2 separate regions of the Homo sapiens genome follow, and region 1 is linked to region 2. The links are contacts of gene promoters, found by promoter capture Hi-C in blood cells and fetal thymus (Javierre and others, 2016). All regions are on one chromosome and are shown on one strand. The core of a region is centred on a gene start or on the middle of the fragment in contact, and the rest is flanking DNA. Distances in the headings are between cores, read along the strand shown.

Region 1 (6,085 bases), core at 3,475-5,974, 390 kb before region 2:
GCCGTGATCCTGAGCCAAGGAGGTGAGGAGCAGAGCAGGCAATTTCACCACCAAATGCCAAGAAAAGGGCTGACATTTTCTTTCATGGGCACCAACCTGCATTTGTATGTGTCCCGAATCCACAGTCGTACTGATTCTAATGGGGACACAGATCATGGTAGAGAATCTCTCCCTCCTCAGTAAATGTACAACTGCACCTGTCATCATGGAGGTCATACATGCATACAAAGAGGTGTACAGGTACCATCTTGTATACACATATATACCCACATGTACAGACATACATTTATGCACATTCACGCTGTTTGTTTCATATATACAGGCATAAAATAGAGTAAATACAGGTAGTTTTAAAAGTACCCTTTTGTGTGAATTGACTACCGTTGTTTGCAAACCCGAAAATAAAAGACGTTCATTATGTATGAAAAGTAACTGATTTGTATTCTGTGAGCATGTAAAAGCGGAAAGTTAGTGCTTGTTCTAAGATTACCTTCTTGTTGATAAACCATAAATGAATCATCAAAGCTCACACCAAATTTTTCTATCAAATAAAACTAGTGACAGCTTGTGGCTTTTTATTAGAGCTCGCCACGAACTAGGGTAAGGTGAGTGTCTTAGCATATTTTAATGCAGTTGCTTACTAAAGGTTTTAACCGCACATGCACACACACACGCTTTCTTATGCAATCTATGTTTGCACTTGTGCTTTCAGTTAGCCTTCTGTAGGAAGTAGAAGTCATATGTTGTCTTTGTTGTAGTGAAATTATACAGATAGAGTTCCATATATTGTATTTGTTTCAATGGTAAATCCTTTTGGAACATATAGAATGCAGAGATTTTTTTTTCCATTAAAATAAATGGGTATTGGTGGTTAAAACTGCTGGACAGTAACTGTTCTCTGATTTCTATCTTGTGTCCAATGTCACTGATGTTGGGTCTTGTCTTAGTGCAAGTTCACATTTTTGACAGACCATTTGGGGTCCGTCGTACATCTCTGGTTGGTGAGTGAGTCTATGAAGACAGAAGTACCAGTTCTCAGCATGGGCCATGGACTCATCTTGTCCACCTCATGATATGATCTGAGGGTGTCATAATCAGCTATAAAGGTAATTGCATACTCAAAGATGAGACGGACCATTCTCAGTTGATGACCACATTAAGCATAGTCATGGCCATCTGTCAACAGTCCCAAGACCTGGGGATTTTTCTCTGGAACAAATCCTGTTGCTGGATCAGGAGATGCCACACCTTGAACTTGATAGGGTCATTCTCCACGAGCACATGCCCCCGACTCAGGGACAGGGGAATCTAAGCCTGTGCATTCACACTCCACAAGATTTCCTCTACTGGCTTTACAGGGCACTGTCACGCGTCTCCCGGGCGCACCTTGCTCCCCTCTTCCTGCAAGGCAGGGGGAGAACGTTCATCCTTGAACAAACAAAGAGCATCCTCAGCCAGTCAGGCGGCTGGTAGCCGGACACATATGCTAACTGGCAATCAGGAAGTCACCCTCCAATGTAAACTTCAGCCACATGCAGGGAGAAACACAGCAGCTGAGTGGCCATTCACTCAAGGAAACAAATACAGCATGACTCCTTTTCTCTCAAGCTGGTAGGCTCTCCTGCACTTTGTGAACCGAACCAGAAGATTAACTTCGCTGAAAATTCAGAAAAATAGGAGTAAAGTGCACACTTCATTAATAAATAGAATATGCCTCAACTTTCCCTTATTTAAACATATTCTCTGTCCCCACAGTTCTAATCAGGACAGAGATACTTCTGTCATGTTGTTCCTCCTAATAGTTTCCAGAAAAAAAGGAAAATAAACCAATTCTTATAGGCCAAAGTGGTAGCATTTCCTGAATCATAAGATGTTTTGTTCATTTGCTGGAATATATTACATTGTTTACTGAAAACCATAGTAGAATCAAAATGTTATTTCATTATTACCTATGCATTTTATCTGAGTCCAACTTATTAAAAAACGAAGTCAAGTAAGGACCAGAAATTGCTTTTCCCAATTACTGAGCACAGGTCTGAGGGTTTTATTTCCACTGAGCAAATAGTCACACCTTCACTTCTTTTTATTAATACTCAACCAACTTAGTTGATTAAAAATCACATTTTCTCCCTCATTTTACATACGATAAATTAATTATTTTGGATAATTTGTTTTAATAAGAATATGCACACATTTTCTAATTTCAATAAAAGTCACCTTCAATACCGCCAGTTCTCTCCAAATGAGCATCATTCCAGGCAGATATACCTGCTGTGCCTCTTGGCCGACACCAGCAAATCTAAGCATTATAACGAAATAAATCCAGCCAGATTTCATGGTAGGTATCAAATAAGACTTTGGCTCTTAAAGAACATCGTTAGAAATTTTGATAGCTCATTCCAGAGTTTCAGAATGTCATTTAAAACAGTCTGATAAATGGAACAACCATCTACCATCACACTCATAGAGTAGCTCAAATTGCATTTTACCCAAATAAATACACTGGGTCTTAATCTTAAGATGTGACAACTAAAAAATTTTTAACAAGTCTGTGTTTGATCCTGGATTTAGTGCAGTTGCACCCAGGCACGAGCTCTCCAGATGATTCTGAGGAAAGGAGTCTACAATTTTCCTAGGGGGTGTATGAACATGGTACCAAAAAGGTGATTAATAATTATAATAATGGTTTATATTTATCAACTGCTTATTATGTGCCCACACTGTACAAAATCCTTACAGATAGTAACTCATTAATCCCTCCAGTAACATATGAGACAAGCACTACTATCTTCTCCAACTCACAGATAAAGAAGGCTGAGGCTCAGAAAAATTGAATGGCTTGCCCAAGGTAAGTGGCCTCCAGAACCAAACCTCAGGCTATCTGGCTCCAGGGTTCATGTTCTTCCGACAACATCACAATGCCACTCTCAACCCAGGAGCAAAACCAGACAAAGTGCCTACTGCAGACCGGAAGACCCTCGTTTGAAGCCTCCATTAGCGTGACTATGCAGCTAGACCAACTTACTGTTAAGCAACAGTACCTTTTACTATGAGGTACCCTTTACTATTAAGTACCTTTTACTAACAGTATCTTCTGTTACCTATTATTAAGTTCATGCTATACTTCTTCAATCTGAAAGCTTTCTGTTAAAAAAAAAAATGTTAACATCGTTCTAAATTAATATTGAGACCTTAGAAATTTTTCCTGTGCAAGATAACGTAATTATTTGCCCCTTCCCTTCCATGGCTTGTTAGCAGGTAGATGAGGGGCTTCTCCTAGATTAATTTAACATCTCAGTTAATCAAAAGTAGCCGGGCATGGTGACTCATGCCTGTAATCCCAGCCCTTTGGGAGGCAGAGGCGGGTGGATCACTTAAGGTCAGGAGTTCAAGACCAGCCTGGCCAGCATGGTGAAACCCTATCTCTACTAAAAAATACAAAAATTAGCTGGGTGTGGTGGTGCACACCTGAAACCCCAGCTACTCAGGAGGCTGAGGCAGGAGAATCGCTTGAACCCAGGAGGCAGAGTTTGCAGTGAGCCATTGCACTCCAGCCTGGGCAACAGAGCAAGACTCCGTCAAAAAAAAAAAAAAAAAAAAAGAAAGAAAAGGAAATTTATGAACTCCAGAGTACCCATTCACTACCAAACCAACTGAGGGGAGAGAAAACTGAGGGAGAAAGTGGGGTGGGGTCTCAAAGGGTTTGCACTGTGCTTTGCTATAAATCATTCAAAGGGGCAAATTCTAAAGGATCTCTAAGTAGTTGCTGATTTTGTAAAGGTAGCCCATAAATCTGTTTACGTGTAGCTGCCTTAAACATGAGTCAACAGGGTAAGTCACACCAACAGGAAACCCAAGCACTAAAAAAGCCACCTACCTTTTCTGTTTACCAAATACTAAGAATAATAATCTAATAATCTGGCTACATCTTTCATAAAGACCTCCATCTTCTCTCCTTAACTGACTGTTGAGATTTGATAATTTTCACAGTCTAATGATAAAATGCTTTCAAAATGGTTCATCTAACACAATTAACAATTCTTTTACTATATGCAATGTGTTACCCTTACTATATTTCCTATTGCTAATAGATTAGCCCACTATTGAAAAAATTCTGCAGTTGTGACCGTGTTCACATGAAAGCATATACAAGACATGGAGAGACAGCAAAAAATGGTGGGAATGGGTGTGTGTATGAGGGTTTCAGATAAGAACTTCAATTATATAATTTAAGAAGAGTCAGTCTATAATTTAAGCAGAAATAATTGAGATACTCATCAAATTAAGTAAGCGGAAAAATTTCCTCTCTCTCATACTATGTTGCTATCATCACATCTATCGTTGGAGGGTTGCTGAGCTTGATACGCCTTTGAACCATTTTATTTGACTTTCCACGTGCCGTCTCATTGGTAGGGAGATGGTGAAAAGCGTTGGGTGGTGTAGGACGAGGGAGGTTTTCACTCTGAAGCTATGAAGATTTGGAGAAAGGGGCTTATAGAAGCACTATGAAAATAAACTGGAGACTATTTTTTTGCTACTTTTTAAAAAGCTTTTTCTTTAGAGAGTACTAAAGCCATTCTATATCTGTCGTACACATGAATTCAGACTATTATTAGAGAGTTATATCTGTGTTGTCATGCACATGTCAACACTGTCCTGATGACAAAATTTTATGTATCCCCCCAGATAAAAATTTTAAGAAATTTTAAATGCTTTTTATTCACACACACTTTTCAAAAGGGATAAAAGTTAATCATGTTAAAATATTCAGTCTATGGCAGATGTCGCTCCTTTGGGCCCTCACTGCTGAATTGCTTACAGTTTCTGAGCTGTAAACTAACATTTGCTTTACTATGTAGTTACAGAGAAATGTGCAACTTGTTTGTGAAACATTCAAATAAAGCTTATCTGGGATTTTTAACTTGTGTGTTTAGTCTTAGACCATCTTTAGTACAGTCTGGTCTAAACACTGTGACAGAGCAAAGGGACCTTTTTTTCCAATGGTGCACAGTGTCATGGGTGCAACTGGCTGGTGCCGGTGTTGTGGATGGTAAAAGAATTTACCGGCAGGGCGTGGTGGCTCACGCCTGTAATCCCAGCACTTTGGGAGGCCAAGGCGGGCAGATCACCGGAGGTCAGGAGTTCGTGACCAGCCTAGCCAAAGTGGTGAAACCCCATCTCTACCAAAAATACAAAAATTAGCTGGGCACAGTGGCGCATGCCTGTAATCCCAGCTACTCAGGAAGCTAAGGCGGGAGAATCGCTTGAACCTGGGAGGCGGAGGTTGCAGTGAGCCGAGATAGCGCCGCTGCACTCCAGCCTGGGTAACAGAGTGAGACTCTGTCTCAAAAAAAAAAAAAAAGAAGAAGAAGAAGAAGAAGAAGAATTTACCAATTTACCAAGACAGTTGTAGGTAAAGAAAGGCTGATTATTCAAGGGAAAGTACGTTGCAAGGAAGCAACAGGCAGCACAGCAGAGAAGGGGATGTCTGGAAAGAGGCAGGGGCTGGAGGGAAGTTTTATAGGGTTGTGCTGGAGGATGTTACACTTGGAGTGAGGTAGTTGTGCCAGCGGCTTGTTTGTGATTAGCTGTCTCTTGGAACAGTTGTTCCCTACCTGGGACCCCCCTTCCTCATTGTTGCTTACTTATCAGGACTCCACACCAGGTTAGCCTATGATGTTTAAAAACCAAGACTAAAACCAAGTGCTGCCTGCTTAATAATTGGCTCTCTTCTGCTTCTTTCATAAAAGTCAATCATTCTGATTTGGAAAAACAGATATATAGATGATAGAAGGATAGATGGATAGATGATAGAGAGAGAGAGATAGAAAGAGAGAGAAGATAGCAAGAAGGTTAGTGAGATCATTTTGTAAAAAAAGGAGGGGGCCAGATGTGGTGGCTCACGCCTGTAATTCCAGCAATTTGGGAGGCAGAGGTGGGCCGATCACCTGAGGTCAGGAGTTCAAGACCAGCCTGGCCAACATGGAGAAACCTCGTCTCTACCAAAAATATAAAACTAAGCCAGGTGTAATGGTGGGCACCTGTAATCCCAGCTACTCAGGAGGCTGAGGCAGGAGACTCTCTT
Region 2 (6,235 bases), core at 384-2,883:
TCAGAAAGACGGCAAGGGGCAGCCTCTCTCCCGGCTCGTAAGTACCGTCATCATACATTTACAGACTACACCCCCAAGACGCTCAAGTTACTCCACAGCCAGGGACTGCATCTGAGCATCGTCTTCCTACTGTCAAGCACAGTGCCTCCCAGAAAATGCACTAGGGGTTGAAAAAAATAAATTTCTATCACAAGGGGCCGGGCGCGGTGGCTCACGCCGGTAATCCTAGTACTTTGGGAGGCCGAGGCAGGCGGATCACCTGAGGTCGGGAGTTCGAGACTGGCCTGACCAATGTGGAGAAACCCGGTCTCTACTAAAAATACAAAATTAGCCGGGCGTGGTGACGCATGCCTGTAATCCCAGCTACTCGGGAGGCTGAGGCAGGAGAATTCCTTGAAGCCGGGAGGCGGAGGTTGCGGTGAGCTGAGATCGCGCCATTGCACTGTAGCCTGGGCAACAAGAGCGAAACTCCATCTCAAGAAAAAAAAAAATTACATCACAAGGCTTTGGTAAATACAGTCCTCTAGAAGTATGAGCAGCCATAGCATCCCTCCTTTTTAATTAACAAAAATAACAGGGGCAAAAATAACAGCAGCGCTCGCTGACCAAGCGCCAGCATCTATCTGCCAGGCACATGCTAAATGCTGCACTCTTCTATCGCCGTCCCTGTTAACAGAGTTCAGGAAACGAAGGCTCAGCAAGAACTTTAGTCCAACAGCTCTTAGCTGCCACAGCCAAGACTTGATTCCCATCCGATTCAGAGGCAGAGCTCCGAACCAGTGCTCTCGCATGCACCGAAATGCAAACGCTAGCATTAGAGTCTCGCTATACAAAAATCTTTTCCCTTTGGCCGGGTGCGGTGGCTCCCGCCTGCAATCCCAGCACTTTGGGAGGCCAAGGCGGGCGGATCACCTGAGGCCAGAAGTTTGAGACCAGTCCGGCCAATACAGTGAAACCCTGTCAATACTAAAAATACAAAAATTAGCCGGGCGTGGTGGTGTACACCTGTAATCGCAACTACCGAGGAGGCTGGGCACGAAAATCGCTTGAATCTGGGAGGCAGAGGTTGCAGTGAGCCAAGATCATGCCACAGCACTCCAGCCTGGGTGACAGAGCAAGGTTCTATCTCAAAAATAAAATAGAAACAAAAATATTTTCTCTTGGAACCGCATAGCCTGAAACGATCCTAGACAGGCGGAGGGCGCTGGTGGAGAGCACGACCCCACAAAAGCCCTCAGACAAGGCAGCCTCGACTTCCCCGGCCGGCTTCCCGCCCTCGCTGCGGGCTCTCCAGGACCCTTTAGACCTCCAAGGCTACAGAACTCAGTCGGATCCGCAATAACGACAGGCCGGGGACTGCGAAACGTGAGCCTGCCGCGGGGACTGGGGATTGGGGGCGTCCCTCCCCTCCTACATCTGCGGGTCCGCTCCTCGAACACGCGCAGTCCGCGCGGAGGGGGCGCATGCGTGCACTTACGTGACCCCGGCCTCGTCGTGGTCGTCTGGAAAATGGGCCTCGGCGTGATGCTCGCCGGACCCTGGCACCACGAGGGAAATCTCAAGTAGAACCCCAGCTTTGGCACTCGGGACGGGTCAGCCCCGCCGCAGCTACCCACGGTCTTCCGGTTTGGACCGGAAGTGCCTCCTGCGGAGGCAGGAAGTCCCGCCTCCCAGCCAGGCCTCTTAGGGTCCTGGCGCGCCCCCTCCCGGGAGGAGAGGGAACGGGCGTGCAGGCGGCGCGTGGGCAGCGGAAATAAAGCTCCCTTGAGTCCCAATAGTGGAGGCCGGGTGGACTTAGGTTCGAATCCCACATCTACTTCACCAATTTCCTCAGAGTTGTATTAAATTAATCATTTAACGAACTCCCACAGAACACCTACTATAAGCCAGACCTGTATTGGTCAGTAGGTATCCTACTGATTGTCCTTAAATCCCAAGAAGCGGGCTTTACAAATAAGGGTACAAATACCTACTAAGAGTGAAGCTTTTCCAGGGGTGGTCAGGCAGGGAGAGCTTTAGGCAGTGGTCTTCAAACTCTAGCTAGCGTGCGTCAGCAGTAGCACCTGGGGGGCTAGTTAAAACACAGTCTCCAATTCGGTGAGTCTGGGGTGGGACCTGATGATTTGCCTAAGTTCCCAGGTGATGCTGAAACTGCTTATCTGGGGGCCATGCTTTAAGAACCACTGTCCAGTCATGAACCTTACCGTTATCCTAACATAGTACTTCTCAAACTTCAGTGAGCCTTAGAACCACCTGGGGGGCTTGTTACAAGTTTGCTAGGCTCCACCCTACCTCTGCCCCCCGAGTTGCTGATTCAGTAGATCTGGGATGTGGCCCAAGAGTCTGCATTTCTAGCAAGTTCCCAGATGATGCTGGTCCAGGGGCCATACTTTGAGAACCGTTGCTTTAAAGAATCAATTTCCAAATTCTCAGCTGTCATCTATGTCTTTATTTATTTTTTTGAGATGGAGGCTAGAGTGCAGTGGCACGATCTTGGCACACTGCAACCTCCGCCTCTTGGGTTCAAGCAATTCTTCTGCCTCAGCCTCCCGAGTAGCTGGGATTACAGGCCTGCGCCACCATGCCCGGCTAATTTTTGTATTTTTAGTAGAGACGGGGTTTCACCATGTTGGTCAGGCTGAGTCTTGAACTCCTGACCTCAAGTGATCCGCCTGCCTAGGCCTCCCAAATTGCTGGGATTACAGGATGAGCCACCACGCCTGGCCTATATTGTTTTTATCTGGAAGTTTTTACCTGGACTAAAAGTGCCAGCAGGGCTGTGTTCCTTTTGAGAGGCTCTAAGGAAGAGTCCACTATCTTGTCTTTTCTGGCTTCTGGAAGCTGCCTGCATTCCTTGGCTCATGACCCCTTTCCATCTTCAAAGCCAGCAATGCCAGTCGGATTCTTCTCATGAGGCCATCTCTCTGGTTTTTACTCTTCTGTCTCCCTCTTTCCCATGTAAGGACCCATGTGATTATAGTAGGCCCGCCCAGGTAATCCAGGATAATCTCCCTATTTTATTTGTTTTATTTATTTTTTTGAGACAGGGTCTCACTCTGTCGCCCAGGCTAGGGTGCAGTGGTACCATCATGGCTCATTGCAGCCTCAACTTCCCAGGCTGAGATGATTCTCCCACCTCAGTCTCTCGAGTAGCTGGGATTACATGCAAGCACCACCATGCCTGGCTAATTTTCTTTTTTTTTTTTTATTTTGAGACAGAGTTTCACTCTGTCACCCAGGCTGGAGTGCAGTGGCGTGATCTTGGCTCACTACAACCTCCACCTTCCAGGTTCAAACGATTTTCCTGCCTCAGCCTCCCGAGTAGCTGAGACTACAGGTGCCTGCCACCACACCCAGCTAATTTTTGTATTTGTAGTAGGGACGGGGTTTCACCATATTGGCCAGGCTGGTCTTGAACTCCTGACCATGTGATCCACCCGCCTTGGCCTCCCAAAGTGCTGGGATTACAGGCATGAGCCACCACGCCCGGCCTAATTTTTGTAGTTTTTGTAGAGATGGGATTTCATCATGTTGCCCAAGTTGGTCTCTAACTCCTGGGCTCAAGCTACCTTCCCACCTGGGCCTCCCAAAGTGCTGGGGTTACAGGTGAGAGCCCTATTTTAAAGGCAGCTGATTAGCAACCTTACTTCCACCTGCAACCTTAATGCCCCCTTGCCAAATAATATACTCATAGGTTCTGGGGATTAGGCTGTAGACATCTTTGGGGGAACCATTATTTTGCCTACCACACTAATATTCTACATTACCCTTGTAAAACGCCTATCCAGCTTTGGCACTGCGAGGCCAGTTCCATTTCTTCCTTTCCTCCTTTCTCTGAATAAGCCATTATCAATTTGCTTTTGTAACTGACATATACTCAACATGCAGTAAAGCACACGAGTCTTAAATGTACAGCTCATTGAATTTTTATTCATACATAGAAACCCACATGAACACCACCCAGATCAAGACAGAGAACATTTCTATCACTCAAGAAAGTTCCAGCCAGGCACAGTGGCTCATGCCTATAATTCCAGCACTTTGGGAGGCCGAGGTGGGAGGGTTGCTTGAGTCCAGGAGTTCAAGACCAGACTGGTCAACAGAGCAAAACCCCCATCTCTACAAAATTTTTTTCTAAAAAGAAAATTCCCTGGTGCCACTTCCCAGTCAATACTTCCTTCAAGAAGGAACCACTATTTGGACTCTTATCACCACAGATTAGTTTTGCCAGTTCAAGAACTTTACATAAGTGGAATCATGGAGAGGATGTGTCTGGCTTCTTCCACGCCATGTGCCTAATAGATTCACCTGTGTTGTGTACGCAGCTGTTGTTTCCTTTTTAAATTAGTGAGTCGTGTTCCATTGTATGAATATACCATTGATTTGTTCACGCAACCTCCTGTTGGTGAGCGTTTGGGGCGTTACTGGGTTTGATGACTTTGTGGAAGTCTCTCTGTGGATATGTGCAGCCCTCAGTCCATTTCTGGACATCTGCTGTGCTGTCCCTTCACTCTCCTGGGCCTCATCCCACTCTCTGGGCTGCACACACACACAAAATGGAATTGTTCTTCCTGATGTCAATTCTTGACATGTTGGGGAGGCTGACTACCCAGCCCACCACACCTGCTTCTTCCAAGTCAAAGGTTCTGGGAGGACTCCACCACCTGGTCCTCATATGCCCCAGCATCCTCACTGTCACAATCCTGGAGAGAGCTGCCAGGCCCAGCTTCAGCAGCAGCAGCAGCAAGCACTGTGACAAATCTTACAGACACTGGTCATGCTTTCCCAAGTTAGTGGCTACTGTAAGACTCCGTTAAACTTGCAGCCTCCTTCAAGCAAATACGCGTTGCATCACAGTAAGCCTTGTGTAAATTGTCTTCATCCCTGTCTTTATCTTATTTTTCCTATGTCTCTTGATCTCTAGCTCTTCACTTTAAACAATTGTTATCTTGTCTTATTTGTATGAATTAACTCAAAATCCCTTCTTAGGGGGGAAAAAGGCAGAGTATCAAATGGCTATTTTCTTAAAAAAAATTATTTATTTATTTTTTGAGGCAGAGTCTCGCTCTGTTGCCCAGGCTGGAGTGCAGTGGCGCAATCTCAGTTCACTGCAGCCTCTTCCTCCCAGGTTCAAGCGATTCTCCTGCCTCAGCCTCCTGAGTAGCTGGGACTACAGGTGTGCGCCACCACGCCCACCTACATTTTGCATCAAATGGCTAATTCTTGGCTGGGGAACACTTATGTTTGGCTTCAGAAAGGCCTGCAGTGAAATTTTATATCCAATGATCCTGCTGACAGTGTGAACCCCTAATTCCTGTGTTGAAGTCTCCAGGCTCAGCCAGTGAAGCAGCTGAGCAGCCTGTGATGTGGAGGTGCCTAGGGGCCTAGGGCAGGAGCTAGAGTGTGAAACTGGACCTGACGCCCCCAGATGCTCCTCCCCCGCCTTGCAGGCTCCGCGACCACCCACGGTTAAAGAAGCAGCTGCTAGAGCAACCCCTCACCCACCCACCGGAACTTCCCTCCAGGCCATGGGACGTTGGTCTCAGCCGGAACTTCCGTCCAGGCAGTGGGACCTTGGCCTCAGCCATAAGCATCCAAGCCGCCGTCGTTGGGAGACTGGCCTTCCCATTGGCAGGGTGCACTGTCCATCACAGATCTCAGGGCTCTCATTGGCCATCGTATGGCAGGGGTGGAGCTCACCACGCTTCGTCCGCGTGCTCCCCACGTGAAGGCACCCGCCCTGCGCGTGTGAAAGGGCGAGAGCAGCGCGAGATAGGGCCTAGCGCCTCAGATCTTCGTTGGCGGCCATGGCTTCGGCTTCTCAGGGCGCTGACGACGACGGCAGTCGTAGGAAGCCCCGCCTGGCTGCATCGTTGCAGATCAGCCCCCAGCCCCGCCCCTGGCGACCGCTACCCGCCCAGGCCCAAAGTGCCTGGGGGCCCGCGCCCGCGCCCGCGACGTATCGCGCGGAGGGCGGGTGGCCCCAGGTCTCGGTGTTGAGGGACAGTGGGCCTGGGGCAGGGGCCGGAGTCGGGGAACTGGGGGCAGCCCGGGCGTGGGAAAACTTGGGGGAACAGATGGGGAAGGCCCCGAGGGTCCCTGTGCCCCCAGCAGGGCTCAGCCTGCCGCTCAAAGACCCACCTGCCAGCCAGGCCGTGTCCTTGCTCACGGAGTACGCGGCCAGCCTGGGCATCTTCCTGCTCTTCCGGGAGGACCAGCCACCAGGTGAGGCCGG

What was found. The method cuts DNA at HindIII sites, captures the fragments that hold promoters and counts their contacts. A CHiCAGO score of 5 or more calls a contact.
Region 1: a contact is called between a fragment that was not itself captured here and the fragment with the promoter of TAF1C in region 2, in 1 of 17 cell types (total CD8 T cells). The highest score is 5.2, in total CD8 T cells.

Annotation. Positions count from the first base shown.
Region 1 is chr16:83,795,720-83,801,804 of GRCh38, forward strand. It overlaps CDH13 (cadherin 13), which reads left to right. Exons shown (of 14, transcript NM_001257.5): 14 at 1-4,921. It overlaps CDH13-AS2 (CDH13 antisense RNA 2), which reads right to left. Exons shown (of 3, transcript NR_120308.1): 3 at 1,517-1,657. Among named protein-coding and RNA genes, the nearest start is that of CDH13-AS2, 5.2 kb to the right of the region's middle. The HindIII fragment of the contact is 354 bases long and covers 4,548-4,901 here.
Region 2 is chr16:84,185,424-84,191,658 of GRCh38, forward strand. TAF1C (TATA-box binding protein associated factor, RNA polymerase I subunit C) reads right to left here and starts at 1,634. Exons shown (of 15, transcript NM_001243156.2): 1 at 1,478-1,634. It overlaps ADAD2 (adenosine deaminase domain containing 2), which reads left to right and starts at 5,734. Exons shown (of 10, transcript NM_001145400.2): 1 at 5,734-6,225. The coding sequence starts at 5,808. RefSeq lists enhancers at 1,474-1,974, 5,480-5,774 and a silencer at 1,620-1,829. The HindIII fragment of the contact is 17,434 bases long and covers 1-1,982 here.